Regions from separate parts of the Homo sapiens genome. Here region 2 is linked to region 1. Evidence: promoter capture Hi-C in 16 types of primary human blood cells and fetal thymus (Javierre and others, 2016). All regions are on one chromosome and are shown on one strand. The core of a region is centred on a gene start or on the middle of the fragment in contact, and the rest is flanking DNA. Distances in the headings are between cores, read along the strand shown. Region 1 holds the start of KRTAP29-1 (keratin associated like protein 29-1). Region 2 has its middle 10 kb from the start of KRT19.

Region 1 (6,657 bases), core at 3,222-5,721:
CAATAAAGGTGGCTAAGCTGAAGCAACTTGCTGTTCTCCTTGCTCTTCCATTAATGCCATAGTCTCATCAGTGACTTGCTTCTTCTTTAACAGCAGCTCCATTCAACCATCCATCCACCCACCCATCCCTCTGGCATTATTAGACAGCAGCTAGGTGCCAGGGACTGTGTTTAGCTCTAAGAATAAACATAAGAAGTCTCAGTCTTTGTTCTCAAGAAACTCACTCTCTGGTGGGCAGCAAGACAATTATGACATTCCTTTGTGCCAAGTACTTGGAGATAAGCATAGAGCACCATGAACTCAGCAGAGCATAGTTGGGGAACAAGGAAAGAATTATTGGAGAATGTGATACTGGCATCGAGTCTTTCAGTATGAGTAGGAATTAACCAGTTACAAACAGGAAAGGAAAAACTTTCTAGGCAAAGGAGACTTGTACAAGTGAATGGGGCTTGAGGGCAAATTGTTCATTAGGTGAGGCATGGGAGAGTTGTTCTTTGAGGAATGAGCCATGAGGTCAGGTCGTAGACAGTGATCTGTCTATGTGGGGTCTTGCATGCTAGACAGAGGTATTTCGGTTTGATGCAGGGCTGACATGAAAGCATCAAGGGGCTGCATGCAAGGAGGTGACAGGAAGAGCACTGGTTTTGGAACATCCCTCTGGCCTTGGTTGGTGTGGAGAACTCAATGGAAGAACATGGTTCTGGATATAGAGAGACTGGGGAGGAAAGGAAGCCAATTGTTTTTGGGTCCACAGGAAGAAAAACAAGTGGGGATCAGGGATCATACTTACAACAAAGAAGGTTGGGTAACTTGGATTTCTTGTGTGAGAATTTTGTTTATGTTCTCCTACTTCCTCCAAGACACTCATAGGATAAATTCTGTATCTTACAAAATCCAAGGACAGAGTCTCTTCAAAGCAGTCACTCCCTACACTTAGTGCACAGAATGGAGGCCTATTCCTTGTCCTCAAGGGGCAGCTTGAGTCATCATGAGCACAGTGTGAGGGTCGACCAGGGCTTCTCAACTTCAGCATTATTGACATTTTGGGCTGGGCGATTCTTTGTTGTAAAGGCTGTCCTGTGAATTATAGGATGTTAAGCAGCATCCCTGGCCTCTATGAACCAGATTCTAGTAGCATCCTTTGAGGGTGATGATCACAAATGTCTCCAGACATTGCCAAACATTGCCTGGGAGTGCAAAAATCACCCCTGTTTGAGAACCACTGGGTCAGACTATGGCAGAGGGAGAAAGTCAAAAGCAAAACTTAATCACATTGGTGTTGGAGTTACTGTCTCATCAAGCCATTGGGATTTATCATTGTCTCCTTCCAGAGTCAAGAGGGGAGTTGGCCAGCCGGATGCTGTGGCTAAAGCCTATAATCCCAGCACTTCGGGAGGCCGAGGTGGGTGAATCACCTGAGGTCAGGAGTTCGAGACCAGCCTGGCCAACGTGGTGAAACCGCATCTCTACTAAAAATACAAAAATTAGCTGGTCATGGTGGCGCACGCCTGTAGTCCCAGCTACTAGGAGGCTGAGGCAGGAGAATTGCTTGAATCTGGAAGGAGGTTGCAGTGAGCCAAGATCACTTCACTGCACTCCAGCCTGGGCGACAGAGAGAGATTCTGTCTAAACACACACACACACACACACACACACACACACACAGGAGTTGGCTAGGGTTTTGAACCTCTGTGCCAAGCACTGGACTAAGCATTTCATATGGATTACAGCAATTCTTTGAAGTAATATGTATTCTCTCCTATTTTTTCACCTATACATAAGATGCAGAATTCGAAGGACAAACAATCCAAGTGCCCATCAATGGACAATTAAATTGTGGTATATTCACCCAATGGGATATTATACTGTGAAGATGACTGGAAAATGGCGACATGCAATAGCATGGATGAATCTTACTAACATAGTGTTGATTGATATAAACAAGCTCCAGAAAACCATACGTGTGTGTATATATTTATGTATATTAATATAATGTGTGTATATATATACACACACTCAAACATATATGTGTGTATTGTTCAAAAACCACAGACACACATATGTATGAGTATACATGCATTTATACACATATGTACACACACAAACACATATATATAAAGGGAGTGATAAAATTCACGATTGTCATGGCTAATAAGTAACATGCAAATGACTAAAACCCAGTTCTTTCCAAAGCCTAGGTTCTGTATGGATCATGATATGTCTCAATGTGGTCACAGGTGTCTTTGTTGATACACTAGGTGTTTTTAGTGCCTTGAACTACAGCAAGACAGATGTTCTTGCTATTAAGAGTTTCCTTTAGGAGAAAAGAAAACAAGAGCAGAATCACTTAGAGAAAAATGGATGTAGAATGGATTGCTTTAAAACTATAAAAGTGGTATAGGATATTGGACTGAAGTTGATGTGATTTTTCAAACATGCTCATGTTCCCAGTTTGATTGACATATTTGGTAAGACTGAAAGTATTAAATACATCCTCTGGGAAGATGAAGAGCTTTGGGGGTAAATATTCAGCAATAAAACACAGTGCATGGATTCCTGCAGATTGAAAGATGCCAACATGAATACAGACAAGAAGGAGGGCAAAAGAAGTGATCCATGGTGTGACATAGAAACCAACTGTGGGGAAAAAGGCATTTCAATGGCAGGGGAGAAGGTTTTCCAGACATTGTTCTGATCAAAAATGTTTCTCTTCTTTTTAAAATGGAGGTGAAGAGGGTGCCAAGGAGAAGGCATTTTGTAGCTGGGGGTTTGCAAAGTACCCTTCAGCGTTTTCAGTATTTTCAATAATTTGTGAAGCAACCAAAGCAAACAAACACCCACAAAAAACTAACCTGAGACATGACAACGCAGTTGATGAAATCGCCATACTTTGAAGACTTAGGTAATTAGCTAACATATTCAACAGAATGAGTTAGTGGCAGAGCCAGAAATCAAGGCCAGCCCCATCTGGCTCCCCACACCGTGATCTTTCCACTCCGTCATGTGCCTCCAGCGTGAACCGGCCAGAACGTTGGCTGGTGTAGAACACCGGACCTGGTTGGTGATGCGGAGCCAGGACAAGCCCGGAGGAAAAGCAGAAGGGCCAAGAAAGTCCCTCACGAATTCCTCTTGGAAGGGATTGGTTTAACATTAACACCACTTTACAGTGATTTTTTTTATTATCACTGCTGGCGTGTTTTTATTTGTATAGAATTCATATGCTATTGATGCCCTAGGGTGGGTTTGATACTTCCTGATGAAATATTTGGTAGTTTAAAAAATTTCCAAAATTAAAAGACTGTGTTTGAGTGTATTGATAAGTAGAGGTAAGTACTCACACCAGTGTGGTCTAGCTGCTGATTACAGTCACTGGAGTGGGCGGAGGATCCCCAGGATGGGGCCTGGGCAACCTGCTCACGAGCCAGTCTGTTGCCATAGGGGTGTCAGCCTGCAGCCACTATATCAGTGTCGCCTTCTCCCTGCCTCCCCAAAGTCAGGGGGTCTAATAGGTGGTTAAGATCAGGGGTTTGGTGGTCAGACAAAGCTAGGTTTGAATTTTGTTTCTACCCCTTTTCATTTGCATAATTTTGGGAACATGATTTAAACTCTATGAGTTTTGCCACTTCTGTTTTCTTCTTTTCTGTTCTAAAAAAATCTTGAGAGGAACCAATTTGGGGGAGATTTTAAGCTTCCTAAAAGGGCCAATGAAGTTTTATATTTTAATCTTAACTTTGTTTTAAACCTGGTTTCTTCTTTATTTATTACTTTTTTTTAGTTTTGCCACTTCTAACATAGTGATGACAATTATACTTACTGAAGTCATTGTGAGGATCCAGTGAAAAATGCAGCCAAGGACTTGATCTAGTAACTATGCAATAAATGAAAGCCATTTCTATTGTTATTATTAGTAATAGTACTAGTAAACAAGTTTCAGGAATGATAAATGGGAAGGTTTTAAAAAGAGGTAGAGGCACTTAAGTGTCCCTGGGTTCCTTGGACTAATTTTCCATTTCCCGTCTTGACATCCTCTCCCCAAACTGGGTCAAGGCTTCATTTCTGATTGAATGGTGCAAAGCTGCATTCCTGGAGGAACAGCAGGGCCACTCTGGCTTGGCAGAGGCCTCCTGATGAAAGGTTAGTGCCAGGAAAGGCCTGCTTCAGTGAGGCTGGAGAGCAACCTGTAAAAGAGACAGCTCATCCAAGAGCAGGAGCAGTGTCAACGAATCCAAATGCAGCGCAGAAAACTCCCGACTCAACAGACACCTTTTCAAAGTTGAAACATCTCCCAGGCTCCTGAAGCCTGCTAATCAGATGTTTGCATGCAAATGAGTAAAAACAATAACAAGGAAAGATGCTGCATGGCGTGCCAACACCCCTAGTGAAGGACTATAAAAGCCCCTCTGTATCGGATGTCTTTCCAATGCAGGTATACTGAGCTTGCAACTTCCCAGCAAGGTCAGCACCAGCACCATGGCAGACGGCTGTTGTCCTGGAAACACCACAGCCATTCCAGCTGTGCCCACCATCACCACATACCCAGTTAAAGGTGGATTTCGACATGCTCTCTGTTTGCCTAGTTCCTGCCACAGCAGAATGTGGCAACTGGTCACATGCCAAGAAAGCTGTCAGCCATCCATTGGTGCCCCAAGTGGCTGTGATCCTGCTTCGTGTCAACCTACCCGCCTTCCAGCAACGTCTTGTGTGGGTTTTGTTTGCCAACCTATGTGCTCCCACGCAGCCTGCTATCAGTCTGGCACTGGTCAGTCTCCTTGTCTGGTTAGCTCATGTCAGCCATCCTGCTCGGAATCTACTTGTTGTCAGGAAAAGTGCTGCGATGCCAGTCCCTGCCAGCAAAGCTCCTGCCAGGAATCTGTCTGCATGTCTGGATCATGTCAGGCAGCTTGTGGCCAATCAGTCTGCTGTGATGCTGGATCCTGCCAGCCATCCTGCTCTGAAGTGACCTCCTGTCCGGAAACTTCTTGCCTACCAACCATCTGTACAGCTAGTCCATGCCAACCAACTTGGTGCCAAGGAAGTTCATGTCAACCCGTCAGTGGTGAAGGCCAGCCCTGTAAATCAACTTATTATCAACCCATCTGCTATATTTTCAAGCCTTGCCAATCAGCCCTCTACATGCCTGTTCCCTGCCAGCCATCGACTTGTGTGTTCAGTTCTTGCAATACTACTTGCTGTGTGCCTTCCCATTGCCAGCCACCTCACTGCCAACTGGTTCCTTCCACATGCTTCATCTACCAGCCAGTGGCTAACTGCCAGGCCCCTTGTTCCACAAAGAACTGTTGCAAACCAGCTTCTTGTGACACTGTGATTTCTGGCCAACCAACTTGTGATGGACCCCCTTCCTATAACCAGAGTGGCTGCAAATCAGCTTGCTGTGTGACTGGTTTAGGCACATCACCCAGTAGTGGCTCCAATTGCTTGCCGACTTCATGCCAACCCAGCTGTGAGTCCAGCTTCTGCAAGGCAACACTTTGTTAATGGAGCCCTCTTCACACCTCCTCTGAGGGTCTGCGGCTGTCTATAAATGCATAGCCATCCCTGGGTGCCTGCCTCCCACCGAGTACAAATGCTGCCTGCTTTCTAACTTTACCCTGATTCCACCTTCACATTCTCTCCAGGTGCTGACCAGGGAACTTGTCCAGGCACGAAGAGATCCTTCTTAACCGAGAATAACCTTTCAGCAACCATGGACTACCACACTGCTGCTTGCATTTCCTGATGATGTCAATTCATTTCACTTTAGCAAACCCTCTCTTGTTTCTCTTTCTTGATGCTGCCTGGTCTTTCAGAAGACCTCGTTGCTGCCAGCTGCTAATAAAAATGTGACTGGTTAAGTATAATAAATAAGACTCCTGGAGTGCTTTCATTCCTACACACACCTCTATGTAGATTTCCTTCAGGTCACATTTGAACACAATGAGCCTGAGTCATCTAAGTCAGTGGGTCTGCATTGGTCTGCAAGGGTAGCTAGTGTCTAGGATTATAGATTCTCCAGCTGGACGAGAGTAAGGGCAAACAGTTCACTGGCTTCCAAAATTTTCACCACCAAGAGTTCTTTTGAGCTGAGTGGGCTCATTTTCCCTATAGTGAGTAGACAGGAAGCCAACAACAAAAATGGTTCTGGAAAGCCACAGATGAAAACAAACATGAGGTATTGGCCATAGAGAATAGCTTAGGGTTAATTCATTTAAGATTCTTTTTTTTTTTTTTTTTTTTTTGACACAGAGTTTCACTCTTGTTGCCCAGGCTGGAGTGCAAGAGCGTGATCTCGGCCCACCGCAACCTCTGCCTCCTGGGTTCAAGCGATTCTCCTGCCTGGGACATTGTGTCAGCTGGCTAAGGAGAAATATTCATAGGATCCCTTTGTATTATCATAGAGCAGGCAATGAAGGGTGTACCTGTAGGTGAGCAGCAATAATTTGGTAACTAGCAAACAAATCTTCATAGTTCACATTTTTCTGTCACTGAGGTATACTTTGGATCTGTAGAGAGACTATTAATTGTTTTATCCCCAGTTTTAGAATCACAAGGGTCGTAGTCTTGAAAGAAGGTTCTGGGTCAAAAAAGAGGGGGATGGCCATAAGAACAAAATCTAGCACCTGAACATGGAAGGGTCCAGGTGGAGAATTTCTACCTGCA
Region 2 (6,124 bases), core at 787-3,286, 240 kb before region 1:
TTCTGTCCTGGGGGTGGAAGGACCACATGGCGAGTTGCTGCTGTAAAGAACAGGCTGACTGTGAGAATTTGTGAGCAGGGATTTGATCAAAGCTGGCTTGAGACAGATGAGCCTGGTGCTGGGGTGAGTTGCCGGGGTAGGTCAGCTCTGGGGGAGGCGGCTGTGGTCCTTTGGTCTTGAGGTGATAAGGCGATGATGGTGGGGCAGCAGAGGGAAGGAGTGAGGGGGTGCTGGGACAGGGCTGTTGACCCAGCTGGGTGATAGCCCTGTGTTTCCAGCCTCAGGAAACCTGCTGTCTGACTCACCTGGTACTTTGCATGTATCATCTCCTGGCTCAAACAATCACTGTTGGCTTCTGCAGGAAAAAAATAAAAAATCAAATCTAGTGGCTTGACCTGCTAGGCCCTTTGTTGTCTGATTCGAACCAGCTCTGCAGCCTCTGCTCCCTGGTTTTCCTTTGACACAGTGGTTAGACCGCAAGGTGCAGGCCCAGACCTTGTGAGTTCAAATCCCAGCCCGGTGCCTTACCAAACTCAGCTTAAGCAAGTAGCTCTCAGTTTCCTAGTTGGCAAAATGGGAGTGATGACAGTGTCCACAGCATAGGGGAGCTTCGATGATTTAAACAAGTTCATGGATGCCACATACTCGAACAGAGTTAGGCATAGAGGAAGAGGCCAATACATTTAGCCTGTTTTTATAAGATTTCTTTTTTACTGGAACTTCCCACTATCCGCCACCTCCATGTCCTTACTCTAGGCACCATTTACTGTGGCTCACCCTGGGGCTGTGAAGGGCCCCCTCCTCCAGGGCGCCCTCCCTGCTTACCCAGGCCTTGATCCCTCACTCAGGGTGCCCTCCATCTGAGCTCCAGCAGCCCCGGGTCTATGTCCCTCCTCTGACCCTGGCCTGCCTCCTGCCTTTGTCAGGAGCCTACAGTGTTTACCTCTTTCTCTTCCCCGAGCTCAGGTCGTCCCCTGGGGACAGACATCCTGGCTCCAGGGCACCTGCCTGCTGGTTTCTGCTGAGCAGGACACCAGCTGTGGGACTTTAGGCAGGCTGAGGCCCCACTCTCTCTCAGTTTTCTGACCTATATAAACTGCTGGAGGTAGGCTGAAGCACGTGTTTGGGCTTTAAAAGAGGGAGAATCTTTGCTGAAGCAAAATCTCACAGAAAGCTGAGTATATAAAACCAGTGTGAATGCATGTGTGAGAAGGCCTGGGAGTGTGTGAGTGTATGTGTGAGCATGTGTATGCATGTGTGTGCATGTGTGAGTAGGTGTGAATACTGTGTGAGGTGTGTAAGTGTGTGTGAGTGTGGGTGGTCACAGCAGATCCGCTCAGCTCCCACCTCTCTGCTTAGGGCTTAGCAGGCGAGGCTTGAAGATCTCTGGGCTAGAAGATTTCTATGCCCCCATCCTACAAGTGTAGGAGTTTTGTCTAAATCATCTTGCTGGGCTTTTAGATGCTTATTATGTTTCTTTTTCTTTTTCTTTTTTTTTTTGAGACAGAGTCTTGCTCTGTTGCCCAGGCTGGAGTGCAGTGGCTCTATCTCGGCTCACTGCAAGCTCTGCTTCCCAGGCTCAAGCAATTCTTCCTGCCTCAGCCTCCCTAGTAGCTGGGATTACAGGCACTCACCACCATGCCCAGCTAATTTTTGTAGTTTTAGTAGAGATGGGGTTTCGCCATGTTGGTCAGGCTGGTCTTGAACTCCCGACCTCAGGTGATCCACCTGCCTTGGCCTCCCAAAGTGCTGGGATTACAGGTGTGAGCCACTGTGCACGGCCAAGAAGATGCTTACTATGTTTCTTAGCAGTCAAGGTGAGGATAAGGATGAGGTAACATGGACATGGCAGGAATGGGAAACTTGGGGTTCGTGAAGCCTCCTCTCTTCTCCCCATGCTCCAGCCCTTTCTTCTGAAGCCCCAGACATGGATATCCCTGTTGGGATGTGTTTGTTCGGTTTCTGTGTACCAGGTCCTCATTGTATGTTTACTCAGCGAGGACAGATATCTCTGGTGGATCTTCTCATCCCCACAGGCTCCAGCCCTAATCCCAGGCAAGGACTTTGGAGGAAGCACTTTCCTCTCCAACTCCAGCACATTCCACTGGAGGGGGAAGGGTCTTGGCAGGACTGAGCCAGGGGAGGGCAGAAGATGCTTCCTGGCACTGTGGTTCCTTGGTGCATCCCCCGTGCCTCCCTGGTGCTGGCACGGCTGGTAGGCCTTGGGCTGGTAATTGGGCAGCCTGCTGAGGGCTGATGCTGGCACTGGGTAGTTCCTGCCTGGAATGCACGTGAGATGCCTAAGGGAGCCGGTGAGGCTTTGTCTTCTGTTAATACTCTGTGTGTGTGTCTTTGAGGTGGGATAGTGTTCCTTTTCAACTGACTTCAAAAAGCGCTTCAGATACCAGGCCCCTCTCATGGGATCAGGCGTCAGCTGCTCTTCCTTGGGGCAAAGGGGATCTCCCCCGTTCTCCCTCATCTCCCCCTTAGTCCCCAGGCCTGGGCATTCCTGGTATTCCCAGCTCCTGGCAGCCCATCTCGCTATGTGATTCTCTGTGGTTTCTGCCTGATGAATGTTTATCCTGCAGCCGGTTGGAGCCGGGATGAGCAGGGCCTCAGCATCCTGTCTCCAGAGCAGCTCTGAAGCTCCTTCCAGCTGCTGTTAGGAATGCCCCTTCTGCCCCAACCCCCTGCTCACCTGGTCCAGAAACTCACTAACCTGACCACCCCTCCCCCAAGTCTGCAAGGCCCCGCTTGCCAGCCTAAAGCCAGTGGAGCCTGGAATGAGTCAGAATTGAAAATAATAAGCACTCCCCTCAACCCATGCTAGAGGTGAGACATGCTCACTGCTGCTTTTTTGAAAATGTAGAAAACACAGATCTTCATTAGAAATCATCTGTCTCTTGGCTGGGCGCAGTGGCTCACGCCAGTAATCCCAGCAGTTTGGAAGGCTGAGGTGGGTGGATCACTTGAGGTCAGGAGTTTGAGACCAGCCTGGCCAACATGGTGAAACGCTGCCTCTACTAACAATATAAAAATTAGCCAGGTGTGATGGCAGGCACCTGTAATCCCAGCTATTCAGGAGGCTGAGGCAGGAGAATCACTTGAACCCAAGAGGCAGAAGTTGCACTGAGCCAAGATTGCGCCACTGCATTCCAGCTTGGGTGATGGAGTAAGACTCTGTCTCAAAAAAAAAAAAGAAAAAAAAAAAAAAAAAAAAGAAAGTCGCCTCTTTCATACCAACCCCTAACTGTGGGCTCCGTCTGTGAAGGCAGGGCCCAGGTGGACACAGCCCTTGTCCTTCCCCTCCCTCAGCAGGCATCAGCGCTGGCAGAGATCGGGGTACAGTCATTGCTTGGTTAGTAGAACCTAATTCTGCCAGGACGCGTTCCAACACAGATCTAGGAGGGCCCCGGTGTGATTCCTTTCCTGGAGGTGGATTAGATAAACCACCGTCCCAGACCAGCTTCCTGACCTCAGTGCAAATAGGAGGCTCACACCTCAACCAGGAGCCATGCAAGATTCTCTCCTTCCCTTGTCCTCCCCATGAATCGTCAGCCTGACCTGCTGGCTCTGCCCTCGGGATATCCCTTGCACCAGGCCACTGTTCCTGAAGTCCTCTGATGTCTCCCCAGAACAAGCCCCCAGTGTCTCTCACCTGAACTCCATTAGAGCCTCTTATTAGATCTCCAGCTCTTTGGGCCCCACGGTCTATTCCACAGGGAGCAGCCAGGGGTGGGGAGGGCGTCCCAGTGCTCCTCTGCTCAAAGCACCATTACTCTCAAGATAAAAGCCAGCGCCTCCATTAGACCGCAGACACCGAGTGCTCTGTCCTGGCCTCCCCTGGGCTCATCTCCTGCACACTGTCATTCTGGCTCACCCCTCTTAACCACTGGGACTTCTTGGTGTTGCCTGAACAGACCAAGCTCCCTCTTCCTTAGGGATTTTGGCTTTGCTGTGCCCTTGGCTTGGAATAATCTTCCCTGGGGATCTGAGGGCTCCTTTGCCTCATTCAGGTCTCTGTTCATGTGTCACCTCCTCAGAGAGGCCTTCCCTGACCACCCCTCAATGGCCTTCCCTGCTGACCCCCTCCCTGGCTTTGCTACTCTGCCCCCTACCCCAGATGAAAGCCCCAGGAGGGCAGGCAGCTTTAGACTGCCCTGCTCTTGAAGCCCAGAGTCTAGAAGGTGCCTGGCACACAGAAGGTGGACCATAATTGGTGTTAAATGAAAAAAAATAAAAGGGCTTCAGGAGAAGGCTCTGTTCTGGCAAATAATCATTAAATGTTTACTAGTGCTGGAGTCAGCCCTGGGGCTAGATACAGAAGCTCCAAGTCTAGATGGGGAGACAGAGCTGTGGTAAGTGCTGGGCAAGTGGGTGGGGGTGGGAATGCTGACCCAGCCTGAGCGGGTCAGGGTGGACATATCAGGGAGAAGAAACCCATGCCAATGGAACTGAGAGGAGCTGGCATGGCTGCCATCCAGGTAAAGGGAGGGGGCAGGTAGGCAGGGAGGATGCTCTGGCCAACGCCGGGTGGAGGTGGCCTCCAGCATACAGCGGGTGTTCAGTGAAAATGCTTGCAGTGTCCAAGACCCCTGCATCCGAGGAGGACAATTTGAGTTTCTGGACGGGAACCTTCCCAGGTGAGGGGGAGTACAGAGCTGAAGCTTCCCCTCAGGAGTCGTGGGATCAGATGGGTTTTGAAAGGAAAGATTTTGCCTGTGGAGGGGTCTTGCTCATCTGGGACTGCCCAGAGTCTGTTCTTGAAGGAGGCAGCATCGCCACCACAGCCCACCAGGATCCTGATGGGAGGGAAGTTTGTCAGCCAGAAGGCAGCAGGGAAGCACCCAGGTGCCCTCTCCTGGGTGCTGGGAATCCGGGCAGGCACCCGGACATTTTCTTTCTCTCTGTCCTGTGTCTGGCACTCTCCTTGCCCCAGTCCAGATGGAATGGGCCACAGCTTGAAGTGGGGCAGAGGCGTCAAATGAGGCCCAAATTGAGTAGGGCAGGACAAAAGCTGAGAGAGACACCCCTGGCTAAGATCGGTGGGGGGGCCTCCCTGTGTGGAGTGAGCGTGAGCCTGCTCACGTACTCACCTCCAGGGAGAGGGAGTGAGGAGGAGGCAGGCCCCTGTCTTCCCAGGCTGTGGAATGTGGCACCTCGGGGAAGCTGGCCCCTGGACCTGGGACTATTCCTTGCAGGACTCAGCTGTCCCTCCCCACCCACACCATCTGCCCTGGTTCTGGTCGGGCTGGTTTTTCCTCCCCTGAGGACTTGGAGAGGAACACCAGGGGCCATCCTGACCTAGCTTACTTGCCCTGCCCTCCCCCTTTCCTGGGTTTCCACGTCTCAGGAAGCCATTGAGATGCAGCAGAAATGGCCAGACCTGGGCTGTGCGGAGGCTCAAGTCCCGAGAGCATCAGCCTCCTGACCCGAGTGCGGCTTTGGGCTGCTCATGACATGGCCGGCGCTGCCCTGTCCTGGCTGCTGGGCCCTTCAAGACAGTGAATAGGATTCTTCCCCATCTGGGCAAGAGCAAGGCTCCCCAAGAGACGGCATGGGTCCCAGGGCTGGGGGATGGTAGTGGCAGGGATCTTGCTCAGCTGAGACCGTCCAGGACTTGGCCAGCATCTCTGGCACACAGCAGTGCTTTGTGCAGGGTCCCTCTCTTTCATCACTCCCATTTGTCATCAGGTCATAACAGCAGGTCTTGTCTCTGTCCTTTACTCTCTAGCCCACCACTATGGCTAGATTCAGACCCTCTCATCTCTAGCATGGACTATTTTAAAACACCCTAAACTGGGTTCTTTATCCCTGGTCATCCCTGCTTCCCTTGACACATCAACCCATTTGCCACACAAAACCCACATCCCATCCCTGATGAAAATGACTTTCCATTGTCTTGCTTACAGCTCCCCCACAGCTGACCTTGTCCTCAACGACCCCCTTCCCTCCCCTCCTGCCATGGCCCAACCATATTGAATTGCCAGTAGTCTCCCAAGCTGGGCCCGGTTACTCATCTCTTCCAGGCCCCCATTCTCTTTACTCTTCTGCCTGAGAAATACCTACTGGTCTGTCAGCTTCTTGCTCAAGGGTCATGCCTCTGTAATTAAATAGCTCTCAA

Evidence for each region. The method cuts DNA at HindIII sites, captures the fragments that hold promoters and counts their contacts. A CHiCAGO score of 5 or more calls a contact.
Region 2: a fragment that was not itself captured here is called in contact with the fragment with the promoter of KRTAP29-1 in region 1 in 1 of 17 cell types (naive CD4 T cells); the score reaches 5.2 in naive CD4 T cells.

Annotation. Positions count from the first base shown.
Region 1 is chr17:41,300,665-41,307,321 of GRCh38, reverse strand. It overlaps KRTAP29-1 (keratin associated like protein 29-1), which reads left to right and starts at 4,471. Exons shown (of 1, transcript NM_001257309.1): 1 at 4,471-5,496. The coding sequence starts at 4,471. The coding sequence ends at 5,496. The HindIII fragment of the contact is 6,603 bases long and covers 3,691-6,657 here.
Region 2 is chr17:41,535,332-41,541,455 of GRCh38, reverse strand. No RefSeq gene overlaps it. Among named protein-coding and RNA genes, the nearest start is that of KRT19, 10 kb to the right of the region's middle. RefSeq lists an enhancer at 1,663-2,283. The HindIII fragment of the contact is 5,266 bases long and covers 1-4,669 here.